2 separate regions of the Homo sapiens genome follow, and region 2 is linked to region 1. Evidence: promoter capture Hi-C in human tissues and cell types (Jung and others, 2019). All regions are on one chromosome and are shown on one strand. Each heading gives the region's core, a stretch centred on a gene start or on the middle of the fragment in contact. The rest is flanking DNA. Distances are from core to core; before and after follow the strand shown. Region 1 holds the start of ZMYND11 (zinc finger MYND-type containing 11). Region 2 overlaps LOC107984191 (a long non-coding RNA gene).

The links. The method cuts DNA at HindIII sites, captures the fragments that hold promoters and counts their contacts. A contact is called where the count stands out against the background at its distance.
Region 2: a fragment that was not itself captured here is called in contact with the fragment with the promoter of ZMYND11 in region 1 in 1 of the 25 tissues and cell types used here (dorsolateral prefrontal cortex).

What each region holds. Positions count from the first base shown.
Region 1 is chr10:134,146-136,845 of GRCh38, reverse strand. It overlaps ZMYND11 (zinc finger MYND-type containing 11), which reads right to left and starts at 1,391. Exons shown (of 15, transcript NM_001370100.5): 1 at 1,287-1,391. RefSeq lists silencers at 1,964-2,142, 590-2,149. The HindIII fragment of the contact is 15,828 bases long and covers 1-2,700 here.
Region 2 is chr10:263,673-266,372 of GRCh38, reverse strand. All of the region lies in intron 1 of LOC107984191 (a long non-coding RNA gene), which reads left to right. Among named protein-coding and RNA genes, the nearest start is that of ZMYND11, 130 kb to the right of the region's middle. RefSeq lists an enhancer at 906-2,105. The HindIII fragment of the contact is 8,284 bases long and covers 1-2,700 here.

The sequences.
Region 1 (2,700 bases), core at 142-2,641:
CCGCGTAAGGGCTGTATATGACACTGGGTGCTGCATACACAGTGTGAAAGGATACTATGTACACACCATATATGACCCCAAGTACTGTGTGCACACAGTATATGACACCTGGTACTATACACACCGCATATATGACACCAGGTACTACATACACACTGTATGTGACAACAGGTAAGGTAAATATATTCAATACTATCCAGATACTACATACACTCGTATATAACATGGAGTACCACACGCACAGCTCATATGGCAGCAGGGTACCAGGCACCTACTGCACACAATACCGGGGGCTGAGTGCACAGCCTAAGCGAGGAAGATACATGTACACACCGTGTATGATAGCCGGTACGACACCGGGTACTTCGAGCACACTGCATATGACACAGAGTACACACCATATATAATCCCCGGTACTGCGTACCCACCGCATAGGACACCGCACTGCACAACGAGCACTGGTACACACGAATAAAACAGGTACGGCGGTCACTCTGCAAAAGACACCGGGCACGGCGCACACATCGCCAGCTCCTCCTCCTCCCGGCTCGGGAGAAAAGCGCGAGGAGAGACTGCAAGTGAAAGTCCGGGTCCCGGCGCCCCCCCTCGTCCCAGCCGCGTCCTCAGCAGCTTCTCCCCGGAGCTCTGGGTGGGAGGAGGGCGGCGGACCCCACAGGACTGTCCCGGAGGTCCGCGAGGACCTGTTGAGGCGGCGGCCTCGCTGCCGGGGTCGCTCACAGCCCCGGGGGACCGACGAATCTCCGCCCCGGGCCTCGGGGCCAGCCCTGCCCGCCGCTCCCGGGCTAGCACACGACGTGCCGCGCCGACAAACGCTTCCTCTCCGCCCGCCACACGCCCGGAGCCGCGTTCCCCGCCGGCCCGGACTGCGCACGGGCCCAGGAGGCCTGACCGAAAGCGGGGCACAGGGCCCGGCGGGCGGTGCTCACGCGACTCCGCGGCTTCCCGGCCCGAGCAGGCCCCGCGCGGTCCTCCGGGGCCTCATCCCGGGGCCTCTTCCGCGGCCGCCCAAGGCGAGTGGGCGCGGGCCGGCAGCCTCCGCAGGCCCCGCCGCCGCCCTCGCAGGCCCCGCCGGCCCGGCCCGCCCCGCCATCCACAAAGCTCCCCGGCAGCTCGGAGCTCTTCGCGAGCGGGCGAGCGACCGTCAGCACCCACTGGTGCCGCCGCCGCCCCAGAGGCCGCGGCCAGGCAGGCTCCACCGCGCGGGCCGCGCCATCTCCACGGACGCCCCCGCCCGCCCCGCCGCCCCGCCGCCGAGCTTTCCCCACCATTATGCTCCGGCTCCTCCACCGCCGCCGCCGCCGCGCCCGGCCCTCCCCTCCGGTGCCGCCTCCTTCCCGCCGCCCGGCGCCTCTCGGGCCTGAGCCGGCGACGGGCGCGGGGGGCGGGGGGGACGCTCAGGCCGCCTCCTCCTCCTCCCTGCCGGCCTCCTCCCTCCTCCCCGGCTCCCCCCCGCCCGGACCCCGCCGCCGGCTCCGCGCGAAGGGCTCCGGGCTCGAGGGGCGCCATGTTTGTAATACTCCACCTCAGAGAACGCCGCGGTCGCGCCTGAGCGAGGGAGGCTAGGCGGCCGGGTCGCCGCGTGCGGGGTGAGGGCCGGGAGGGCACCGCCGCCCGCACTTACTCGCGTCTTCCCCTGGCGCCGCGGGCCTGCGGGGCCGGAGCGGGCGGCGGGAAGTTGGGCGCCGCCGCCCGGGAAAGTTGGGTCCCCGCGAAGCCGCGGCAGCCGCTCACATGGCGATGCGCGCGGGGCGGCCGCTCGGCCCCACCGGCCCCTCGGCCCGCCCGCCCTCGGAGTTTATTGTGTCGGGTCGAGGCGCCCCGCGGCCGGGCCGCGCACTGGGGGCTCTAGCGGCTGGCGCCGGACTTGCGCGCGGCCGGCCCGGCTCGCGGCCGCCTCCCGCCCGGGGCCGGAGCCGTGCACGCGGCTCCTACCTTCCCCACGTCCTGTCTTCGGCGCCTCTATCCGAAATTTGTTGGAGCATATTCCTCTGTCTCCACACATGCACTCCGTATCCACACACACGTGAAGGCTACGTACGTGCAGGCGCGCTGGAGCCGGGAGCGGGCGCCGAGGCCGGGGCGCGAGGGGGCATTGTCAGGCGCCGCCGCAGCTCAGCCCCGGGTGGACCCGGTGCCTGCCCCTGGCTCGCGGGGTCCGGAACAGCGAAGTCTGAGAAGTACGAGTGCTTCTCTTAACAACATTGTTTAGGTAGTCTGAACAGCCCTTTACTCCTGTCATCAAAAAGAGCGGTAGGGATACGCTAAGTTCCCCGTTTCATCTCTGCGCAAACAGGACCGCGAAAAGAACAGGACCACCCATCAGCAGCCCTGCAAGAACACTGCAGATTTGCGCGAGAAGTAGGTTATCTTCTATGGAGAGGAATTCTAGACCTAATCAGAGACGATCCCTTAAGACTCTGGTTTAAGAAAGGTTCGGAGATAAGCATACTTTGATAGCGTTCACCTGTTTTCCCTGAGGACCTTTCGCCACTGGGAGTCGGGGAACACCTGTCAGTCAGAGTCCTCTGCTCTGAAATTCGGTGAGTACAGGACAGCAAGGTGTTTTCAGGGAGACCGCATTCTCATAACTTTTACTACAGTATAGTGTTATAATTGTTCTGGTTTATTATTAGTGTTGTTAATCTCTCATTGTGCCTGACTTCTAAATTAAACTTTATT
Region 2 (2,700 bases), core at 167-2,666, 130 kb before region 1:
TAGTATTCCATGGTGTATATGTGCCACATTTTCTTAATCCAGTCTGTCATTCATGGACATTTGGGTTGGTTCCAAGTCTTTGCTATTGTGAATAGTGCTGCAATAAACATACGTGTGCATGTGTCTTTATAGCAGCATGATTTATAATCCTTTGGGTATATACCCAGTAATGAGATGGCTGGGCAAATGATATTTCTAGTTCTAGATCCCTGAGGAATCGCCACACTGTCTTCCACAGTGGTTGAACTAGTTTACAGTCCCACCAACAGTGTAAAAGTGTTCCTATTTCTCCACATCCTCTCCAGCACCTGTTGTTTCCTGACGTTTTAATGATTGCCATTCTAACTGGTGTGAGATGGTATCTCATTGTGGTTTTGATTTGCATTTCTCTGATAGCCAGTGATGGTGAGCATTTTTTCATGTGTCTTTTGGCTGCATAAATGTCTTCTTTTGAGAAGTGTCTGCTCATATCCTTTGCCCACTTGTTGATGGGGTTGTTTTTTCCTTGTAAGTTAAGTTTGTTTGAGTTCTTTGTAGATTCTGGATATTAGCCCTTTGTCAGATGAGTAGATTGCAAAAATTTTCTCCTATTCTGTAGGTTGCCTCTTCACTCTGATGGTAGTTTCTTTTGCTGTGCAGAAGCTCTTTAGTTTAATTAGACCTCATTTATCATTTTTGGGTTTTGTTGCCATTGCTTTTGGTGTTTTAGACATGAAGTCCTTGCCCACGCCTATATCCTGAATGATACTGCCTAGGTTTTCTTCTAGGGATTTTATGGTTTTAGGTCTAAATTTAAGTCTTCAATCCATCTTGAATTAATTTTTGTATAAGGTGTAAGGAAGAGATCCAGTTTCAGCTTTCTACATATGGCTGAGAAAAGAACTTTTATCTCAGGAGTATGAATCCTTTTAAACTATTAGGTCCAGAGAGACAGTAAAATCAGGCAGCAGTCACATCACATACACCCCTTGACCTTATGCGTGCATCTCTTGAAACTGCTTGCTGCTGCTACAAGTAGCTATGAATCAATGTAGTGATACCACGTCAGACACTGTACCCCGTGCCCTGTACCCTACAGTTATGAGTCAACCTAGTGACATACACTGGACACCATACCCCATGCCCTGTACCCTATAGCTGTGAGTCAACCTAGTGACATGCACCGGACACTGTACCCCATGCCCTGTACCCTACAGCTGTGAGTCAACCTAGTGACATGCACCAGACACCTTACCCCATACCCTGTACCCTACAGTTGAGTCAATCTAGTGACATGCACCGGATGCCGTACTCCATGCCCTGTACCCTACAGTTATGAGTCAACCTAGTGACATACACTGGACACCGTACCCCATGCCCTGTACCCTACAGTTATGAGTCAACCTAGTGACATACACCGGACACCATACCCCATGCCCTGTACCCTACAGCTGTGAGTCAACCTAGTGACATGCACCAGACACCGTACCCCATGCCCTGTACCCTACAGCTGTGAGTCAACCTAGTGACATGCACCGGACACCATACCCCATACCCTGTACCCTACAGCTGTGAGTCAACCTAGTGACATGCACCAGACACCTTACCCCATGCCCTGTACCCTACAGCTGTGAGTCAACCTAGTGACATGCACCAGACACCTTACCCCATACCCTGTACCCTACAGTTGAGTCAATCTAGTGACATGCACCGGATGCCGTACTCCATGCCCTGTACCCTACAGTTATGAGTCAACCTAGTGACATACATTGGACACCGTACTCCATGCCCTGTACCCTACAGTTATGAGTCAACCTAGTGACATACATTGGACACCGTACTCCATGCCCTGTACCCTACAGTTATGAGTCAACCTAGTGACATACACTGGACACCGTACCCCATGCCCTGTACCCTACAGCTGTGAGTCAACCTAGTAACATGCACCAGACACCTTACCCCATACCTTGTACCCTACAGTTATGAGTCAACCTAGTGACATACACTGGACACTGTACCCCATGCCATGTACCCTCCAGTTATGAATCAACCTAGTGACATCCACTGGACTCCATACCCCATGCCCTGAACCCTACAGGTATGAGTCAGCCTAATGATGCCACACCAGATGCTGTTACTGGCATCCTATAGGTTAATAATGTACAGCCAATCACTCGGCACTGTTGTTTCTGTAAACCGACAAGAATTCCTGACAGTCAACTTGCTGTCAGCCCACTCCTCATCCTCTTCTTTTGCCTTTAAAAACCCACTTGTGGCCAGGCGTGGTGGCTCACACCTGTAATCCCAGCACTTTGGGAGGCCGAGTTGGGCGGATCACCTGAGGTCAGGAGTTCAAGACCAGCTTGGCCAACATGATGAAACCCTATCTCTACTAAAAATACAAAAGTTAGCCAGGCATAGTGGCATGTGCCTGTAATCCCAGCCACCTGGGAGGCTGAGTCAGGAGCATTGCTTGAACCCAGGAATTGGAGGTTTCAGTGAGCCGAGATTGCGCCACTGTACTCTAGCCTGGGTGACAGAGTGAGACTCCATCTCAAAATCAACAACAAAAAAATAAAAAAATAACCCCACTTGTAACTGCTGCTTCTCAGAGCATATATTATCAGAGCATATACTCAGGGCAACTTGAATCTCTGCTCCCAGCTGCAATCCTCAAGCTTGGCCCAAATAAACTGCCTACTTATATTAACTTTGCCTCGG